Linked DNA regions of Homo sapiens: region 1 is linked to region 2. Evidence: promoter capture Hi-C in human tissues and cell types (Jung and others, 2019). All regions are on one chromosome and are shown on one strand. Each heading gives the region's core, a stretch centred on a gene start or on the middle of the fragment in contact. The rest is flanking DNA. Distances are from core to core; before and after follow the strand shown.

Region 1 (4,358 bases), core at 1,295-3,794, 120 kb after region 2:
ATATGAAAATGCAAAACTCCAGGTGGGGCGCAGTGGCTCATGCCTGCAATCCCAGAACTTTGGGAGTCTGAGGTGGCTGGATCACTTGAATGCAGAAGTTTGAGACCAGCCTGGGTAACGTGGTGAAACTCTGTCTCTACCAAAAATACAAAAGATTAGCTGGGCGCGGTGGCACTCACCTGTAGTCCCAGCTACTCGGGAGGCTGAAACAGGGGGATTGCTTGAGTCCCGGAGGATGAGGTTGCAGTGAGCCGAGATTGTGCCACTTTACCCTGGACTGGGTGACAGAATGAGACCCTGTCTCGAAAAGAAAAAAAAAAAAAAGAAAGAAAGAAAAAAGAAAAAAATGAAAAAAAGAAATGCAGAGGTCTAAGAATAGCTGGTAAATCTTGACAGAGGAAGTACAAAGCTGAAGACTTTACACTACTAGATATTAAGATGTGTCATGAAACTGTGGTAATTAAGACAGTATGGTATTGGTTCAGTAATAATGAAATAGACCAGGGAACAGAATAGAGTTCAGAAACATGATATTGACGGGCCCATAGGGGAAAGCTGGGTCATTCAATAAATGGCACTGGGTCTATGGGATATTGTAGGAGCTGAGGAAAAACTTTCCCTCTACCCGCTGAAAAACCAACTCACAAAAGGCAGATTAGGAAGAGAAATGGCCCACAAATGTTTTTAACGTGAACAGGAATCTTATCAAAATATAAGATCTCAAAGAAAAATGTCATTGATGCTTTTATACTATCTTGAAGTTACAGAAAGAATAGGGGCTTGGATTCATGGCAAAATAGTTTATGGGAGGGAGAGAAGAGAGGACTGGCTAGCAAAGGTGTCTTGTTATATGGAGGGGATCTCACAGGTTGGAGCCTTCAGAGAGAATAGGTGGTAAATGTTTCTTTCAGACCTTTAATGGTGTCAGACTCTCAGTTCATCTTTCCTGGATCCAGGCAAGGGAGGATCTCAGAGAAAGCCTGGCTGCATCACGCAGATTCTCAACAGATGCAAATCTCCCCGACAAAAGACAGCTTGGGGTTGGGCGCGGTGGCTCATCCCTGTAATCCCAGTACTTTGGGAGGTCTAGGCAGGCAGATCACTTGAGGTTAAGAGTTCGAGACCAAGGCCGGGCGCGGTGGCTCACGCCTGTAATCCCAGCACTTTGGGAGGCTGAGGCAGGCAGATCACCTGAGGTCGGGAGTTCGAGACCAGCCTGACCAACATGGAGAAACTCTGTCTCTACTAAAAATACAAAATTAGCTGGGTGTGGTAGCACATGCCTGTAATCCCAGCTACTCGGGAGGCTGAGGCAGGAAAATTGCTTGAAAACCCAGGAGGTGGAGGTTGCGGTGAACCGAGATTGCGCCATTGCACTCCAGCCTAGGCAACAAGAGTGAAACTGTCTCAAAAAAAAAAAAAAAAAAAGAGTTCAAGACCAACCTGACCAACATGGTGAAACTTCATCTCTACTAAAAATACAAAAATTAGCCAGGTGTGGCGGAGGGCACCATAATCTCAGCCAGTCAGGATGCTGAGGCAGGGAGAATTGCTTGAATCTAGGAGGGGGAGGTTGCAGTGAGCCTAGATGGTGTCCCTGCACTCCAGCCCGGGCAACAGAGTGAAATTCCATCTCAAAAAAAAAAAGAAAAAGACAGCTTGGTAGGACTCCTTCTGTCCACAGGTCCTCTGAACAACCATCTCAAAATATGTCAGACTAGGCCGGATGTGGTAGCTCATGCTTGTAACTCCAATATTTTGGGAGGCTGAGGTGGGAAGATTGCTGGAGCCCATAGTGAGCTGTGATCGCATCTCTGCCCTCCAGCCTGGGGGACAGAGAGAGATGCTGTCTCAGAAAAAATTTAAGGCGGGCCCGGTGGCTTATGCCTGTAATCCCAACAGTTGGGGAGACCAAGGCAGGTGGATCACTTGAGGCCAGGAGTTCGAGACTAGCCTGGCCACCATGGTGACACTCTGTCTCTACTAAAAATACAAAAATTAGGCCTGGCGCAGTGGCTCATGCCTGTAATCCCAGCACTTTGGGTGGCCGAGATTGGCGGATCACCTGAGGTCAGGTATTCAAGACCAGCCTGGCCAATATGGTGAAACCCCATCTCTACTAAAAATACAAAAATTAGCCAGGTGTGGTGGCTCATGCCTGTAATCCCAGCTACTTGGGAGGCTGAGGCAGGAGAATCGCTTGAACCCAGGAGGCGGAGGTTGCAGTGAGCCAAGATTGTGCCACTGCACTCCAGCATGGGCAACGACAAAAAAAGCGAGACTCCATCTCAAAAAAAAAAAAAAATGATAATGATAATTAGCCAGGTGTGGTGGTGCACGCCTGTACTCCCAACTACTCAGGAGGTTGAGGCGGGAGAATCACTTGAACCTGGGAGGCGGAGGTTGCAGTGAGTGATGGTGCCACTACACTCCAGCCTGGGTGACAGAGTGAAACCCTGTCTCAAAAAATTTTTTTTAAATGTCAAAGTATATTTCGGAGTGAAATCTTTTGGGTTCCTTCAGTATTCATATGGGGAAAAATGAATCTTGATCCCAACAGATACTATATGGTAGGGAAAATTTTGTGCTTCAGTGGAAAATTGCATTATCTATAGTACATTCTCTGGATTATCTGATTTTGATTCTATGATAGCTATTTTACAGCTCTGTGTCTGGTAGACAATTGAAAGCAATGCAAAATTCATAAAAGCAAATTGTCTAGTGGAGGGACACTCCCTGCCCCCTCCTCCAGAAAAACAAGCTTTGCCTCCATTTGCATATTCATTTCAATATTTCTGGTCTCTAAATGCGTCTATTCTTTGGATTCACCTTTGAACTGGTTGTAACACCTTACTAGTTTTTCTTAATAATAAGTGTAATAAAATTTTAACATGTTTATTTTTATGTCTGTATGAAAGTTCATAATTTTATGTTTTTTAAAAAATTAATTTTTGGGTTGGGCGCAGTAGCTCACGCCTGTAATCCCAGCACTTTGGGAAGCCGAGGGGGGTGGATCACCTGAGGTCAGGAGTTCGAGACCAGCCTGGCCAACATGGCGAAACCCCATCTCTACTAAAAATACAAAAATTAGCCAGGCGTGGTGGCTCATGCCTGTAATCCCAGCTACTCGGGAGGCTGAGACAGGAGAATTGCTTGAACCCAGGAGGCAGAGGTTGCAGTGAGGCGAGATGGAGCCACTGCACTCTAACCTGGGTGACAGAGCAAGACTCCATCTCAAAAAAAATAAAATTAAATTAACTTTTGGCCAGGCACAGTGGCTCACACTGTAATCCCAGAACTTTGGGAGGCCGAGGCAGGTGGATAACTGGAGCTCAAGAGTTTGAGACTAACCTGGGCAATGTGGAGAAACCCTACACCTACAAAAACTACAAAAATTAGCCAAGCATTGTGGCTCATGCCTATAGTCCCAGCTACTAACACTTGGGAGGCGGAGGTAGGAGGCTCACTTGAGCCTGGGAGGTTGAGGCTGCTGTGAGCCATGATCATGCAGCCTGGGTGACAGAGCAAGACCCTGTCTCAAAAAAATTAACTTTGAATAATACAAAAAATTAGGTGGATTGCTAATATAAAGGTGGAAGGCAAACCAAAATGCTTTTATAAGACAATAAAGGAGAATATATTCATGACTTTGAGACAGCAATGATTTCTTAGAAAGGACTTAAAGCACTAACCATAAAAGAAAAGATTGATCATTTGGGTGTCATTAAAATTAAGACTGCTTTTCATCAAGAAACACCACTAAGAGAGTGAAAAGGCATGCCACAGAGTGGGAGAGGATACTTGCATTACATTATAGACTTGATATCTCTATCTTTGTAATGACATCTACAAATCAATACAAAGACAGAAGAAAAATGGGCCAAAGATATGAGTAGGCCCATCACGAGAAAACCATATCCAAATGGTGAAAAAGCTTAAGAAAAAGCATACAGCCTCATTAGTCACCAGGGAAATAAAAATTAAAACTATTGCACAGCCGCCAGAAGGGTGAAATGCAAAAGACAATACTAAATGTCTTCATCTGCTTGTGTTACTATAAGGAATACCCAAGGCTGGGTAATTTATAAAGAAAAGAGGTTCATTTGGCTGCTGGTTCTTCTGGCCATACAAGAAGCATGGCACCAACATCTACTTCTGATGGGGGCCTCAACCTGCTTCCACTCATGGCAGAAGGCAAACGGAAGCCTGCGTGTGCAGAGACCATAGGGTGAGAGAGAAAGCAAGAGAGAGAGGGGAGGTAGCAGTCTGTTTTTTTTAATAACCAGCCCAGGCTGGACGCGGTGGCTCATGCCTGTAATCCCAGCACTCTGGGAGGCGGAGGCGGGTGGGTCACTTGA
Region 2 (4,470 bases), core at 90-2,589:
AAAACGGTGTGACAATGGGCAACAGACACGTGTTCAAGCTCTGGGGCCTCAATGCCGGGCTCTGTAGAATAAGACGGCAGGGCTGGACAAGATCCCTAACCGTTCTAACAGTGTATGTTTTGGATCAAACAGCAGAGGACCTCGGATCTGGCCGCGCTCGCTGCTGGTGGGACAGCTGCCTGAGAAAATAAGCATGTGGCCCCCGCCCGCCACCTAGCCAAGCGCCAGGATCTGTCGCGTTTTCTAGTAGTATGGAAAGCAGCGTGGAGGAGAATGAAGGGAGAGGAGCAAAAAGGGGTGGGGGCAGTGCGACAATGAGAGGGGAGGAGAGAGCCACGAGGATTTATTTCATCATGCAAACAGGCGCGTAGGTTTCATCAGCGTCTGTGCGCTGGGGCTCCGGGGCTGGGAGGGAATGCCAGGTTCCTGAGGGCAGCCCGAGGCTGGCCCCCCCACCCGTGCCAGCTCAGCTTCCTCTTCCTCATCCTCTCCCAGGGAGGTCACACGGTGCCTCCTCCTCTCCCCGGACAGAAGAACGTGTTTTTCTGCACAGCCCTGGCCGTGGCGCCAGGGTCCCCCCCGCGGAGATCCCACTCGCGTAAATGGGGAACGTGCCACAGGTGCCCGGGAGGCGCTGCTGGAGCAGGCAAGCACCCCCAGATCCGAACCTCAGTCAGAGCGCGCGAGTCCAACACAAAACTCGGCGTGCTTCGGGAAGGAAAAAGGGCCCTGCAGGAATCGTTTATCCCAACAGATAATACCCATCCCATAAAAACACCAGGCCAGGCCTCTCCTGGATCGTGGGCCACCCTAACTCCGCCCTCTCCCGCTTCGGGAGCGCCCCCAACACCCACAAGGGGCAGCACAGCTCGGCATGTGGCTGTCCTGGAGGCGTGCGTGTTTGTTAGGTGTCAGCTGTCTGACACCTAACAGAAAGAGGAAACAAACGGGGCAGTTTGTAACTCGGGTCTGGAAGACGCACTCAGAGGGGAAGCGGGCGGCCACTTCCATGACCCTCGCTGTCTCTCCGATGCCCCTTTTCCGTTCTTTCCAATCACGGCGCCCTTGAGCCTGGACACCCGGTCCAATCCGCGATTCCCGATCCTCCCGCCCGCCCAGGAGCCGGCAAGCGGCGTCGCCAAGCCCGCGCCTACCTCCCGGGGTGGTGCTGAAGAGCGTGCCGCCGGGGGTCGTGCTGTAGTCCCCGGGCGGGAGCTGCACGCCGTCGCCGAGCACCACCCGGCGAGTGGCGGGGATGGCCCGGCTTGGGGTCTGGCTGCAGCTGCTGCCCCCGGACATGGTCTCCTGTGCGCTGCACCCGCGAACCTCTCGCTGCCCTCCCGCGCCTCCAGCCTCGCTCCGCCTCGCCCCGTGCCGCCCCGCCCCAGGACGCCCCTTCCGCCTCTCCCGCCCCACGCCCCTGGGATTTGTAGTCCGCGCCGCAGCCCCACCCAGCTCCAGGACGCTGCTTCCACGTGGGATCCCCCGCCGCCCCCCGACCCACTCCCGTCTGCTCACGGGCTCTTCCGCACGGGCGCTGGCGCCGCCCCGCAGCGACTGCCCCTCCGTCCGGGGTCCCTCCCCGCCACGCTGGCAGGGACGGATATGGGGATGGCGGGCGGGATAGCTCGCCTAAATTAATCCTTGGCTGGGTTGGGGGCGGCGACTCAGGACCGCGCGGAGATCCGAGCTGACCCGGCCCACTGCAGGAAGGCCCGGTTTCTGCATTAGGACATCAGGCCTGGTGTACCCTTCGGCACTCCCTGTTTCGTGCCTTAGTTCCTCAGATGAGAAAATGGGGATTGAGTAGTTATGCTCACCGCCCCCCGCCCCGCTTCAATTTCTTGACCTTGATGGGGGTGGGGGTGGAGGGGCTAACAATTCCGTTCCCGGCCTTTAGAGAGGGTGTGGGAGGAGGAGTGAACCAACCAGCGGCGTCCTGGGAGCTAAATTTAGAGCTGGGGGCGCAGAGGTGGGTGGTGGGGAAGGGCGTTGGAGAGGAGTAAGAGTGTCGAAGAGGTTTCCCGATAGCCCCTGAATTGAGTCCAACGTCCACCTGAGGTTTAGTAGGTACTCCTTGGATGGATGGATGGATGGATGGATGGATGGATGGATGGATGGATGTTCAAGGGGAGAGAGAAAAATGCAAGAAGGACCGAGGATGGAAAAGCTTGTTGGGTTTGAGAAGTTCTTAGCATTATGGGCACATATTGTGGGGAAGAGGGTGAAGAGGGGAGGGCAGTTTAAAAGGGAAATTGGGTGGTGCACCTGTAATCCCAGCTACTCAGGAAGCTGAGGCTGGAGGATGCTTGAGCCCAGGGGTTTGAGGCTCCAGTGAGCTGTGATCACACCACTGCACTCCACCCTTTGTGACAGAGACCCTATCTCTAAAAAAATATATAATAATTTTTTAAAAAGGAAATTGGGGTCAGGTCGTTGAGTTTTTCAAATTATGCCAAAGTGCTTGGACTTTGTCTTAGAAGGGCAGGAGATATCAGAGATCTTTTAAGCAGGGGGATGACATGATTTGAGTTGTTTTTTGGAAGGATAACTAGTAGCCAGTGGAGTTTCAGAATGGGCCAAGGAGGGCAAGGCCTGAGATAGGGAGACCTGTTGAGTTTGGTCTCACTTTTGAGGGAAACTTTAGGCCTACAGTGGCTAAGACAGTAGCCACCAGCTACAGGTGCACATTGAGCACTCCAAATGTGACCAGTCCAAACTGTCACAAGTTTAACATACACACCATATTTCAAAGACTTAGTGTGAAGAAAATCATGTAAAATACCTGAATAATTTGTTTCTATATTGATTGTATGTTGAACTGATAATATTTTGAGTATACTGGGTTAAGAAAAATACATTATAAAAATTAATTTTGGGCCAGGCGCAGTGGCTCACGCCTGTAATCCCAACACGTTGGGAGGCCGAGGCAGGCGGATCATGAGGTCAAGAGATCGAGACCATCCTGGACAACATGGTGAAACCCTGTCTCTACTAAAAATATAAAAAAAATTAGCTGGGCATGGTGGCGCATGCCTGTAGTCCCAGCTACTCGGGAGGCTGAGGCAGGAGAATTGCTTGAACCTGGGAGGCAGAGGTTGCAGTGAGCTGAAATCATGCCACTGCACTCCAGCCTGGCGTCAGAGCAAGACTCTGTCTCAAAAGAAAAAAAAATAAATTTCGGCTGGGTGCAGTGGCTCACGCCTGTAATCCCACCACTTTGGGAGGCCTAGGCGGGTGGATCATGAGGTCAGGAGTTCAAGACCAGCCTGGCCAAGATGGTGAAACCCTGTCTCTACTAAAAATACAAAAAAACAAAACAAACAAACAAACAAACAAAAACAACAGACCGGGCACAGTGGCGGGTGCCTGTAATCCCAGCTACTCGGGAGGCTGAGGTGGAGAATTGCTTGAACCTGGGAGGCAGAGGTTGTAGTGAGTAGAGATCTGCCACTGCACTCCAGCCTGGGTGACAGAGTGAGACTCCGTCTCAAAAAAAAAAAAAAAAAAAAATTAATTTCATCCAGGTGCTGTGGATCACACCTGTAATACCAGCACATTTGGAGACCGAGGTGAGCAGACTGCTTGGGCTCAGGAGTTTGAGACAAGCCTGGGCAACATGGTGAAACTCTGTCTCTACAAAAAAATTTAAAAATTAGCCCAGTGTTGTGGCTCACACCTGTGGTCCCAGCTACTTTCAAGGATGAGGTAGGAAGATGACCTGAGCCCCAGAGGTGGAGGTTGCCATGAGCCAAGATTGCACCACTGCACTCCAGCCAGGGCTCAAAAAATAAATAAATAATATAAGATAAAAATAGACCAGGCCTTGCTGGTTGCAGCGATGTGCACTTGTAATCCCAGCCCTAGCTGGGATTACAAGGCCAGAGGATTGCTTGAGGCCGGGAGTTCAGAGACCAGCCTGGGCAACATAGTAAGACCTTGTTTCAAAAAAGAGAGAGTTTCAGGCCGGGTGTGGTGGCTCACGCCTGTAATCCCAACACTTTGGTAGGCCGAGGGGGGCAGATCACGAGGTCAGGAGATTGAGACCATCCTGGCTAACACGGTGAAACCCCATCTCTACTAAAAATACGAAAAAAAAAAATTACCCGGGCATGATGGCAGACGCCTGTAGTCCCAGCTACTCGGGAGGCTAAGGCAGGATAATCGCTTCAAACTGGGAGGCAGAAGTTGCAGTGGGCTGAGATCGTGCCACTGCACCCATCCTGGGTGACAGAGCGAGACTCCATCTCAAAAAAAAAAAGAGTTTCACTCTGTTGCCTGGGCTGGAGTGCAGTGGCTAATTATAGGCACAATCATAACTCAGTGCAGCTTCCAACTCCTGGGCTCAAGCCATCCTCCCACCTCAGCCTCCCCAGTGGCTGGGATTACAGGTGCATGCCACTGCACTTGGCTAATTAAAGAAAAGAATTTTTTGGCCGGGCGAGGTGGCTCATGCCTGTAATCCCAGCA

What was found. Contacts are between HindIII fragments. The study calls those that stand out against the background at their distance.
Region 1: a fragment that was not itself captured here is called in contact with the fragment with the promoter of EIF4EBP1 in region 2 in 3 of the 25 tissues and cell types used here (IMR-90 fibroblasts, bladder and liver).

The regions. Positions count from the first base shown.
Region 1 is chr8:37,910,458-37,914,815 of GRCh38, reverse strand. No RefSeq gene overlaps it. Among named protein-coding and RNA genes, the nearest start is that of RAB11FIP1, 13 kb to the right of the region's middle. RefSeq lists an enhancer at 3,938-4,358. The HindIII fragment of the contact is 7,181 bases long and covers 1-4,358 here.
Region 2 is chr8:38,027,403-38,031,872 of GRCh38, reverse strand. It overlaps EIF4EBP1 (eukaryotic translation initiation factor 4E binding protein 1), which reads right to left and starts at 1,339. Exons shown (of 3, transcript NM_004095.4): 1 at 1,155-1,339. The coding sequence starts at 1,299. RefSeq lists enhancers at 519-618, 1,248-1,542 and a silencer at 1,119-1,558. The HindIII fragment of the contact is 9,944 bases long and covers 1-4,470 here.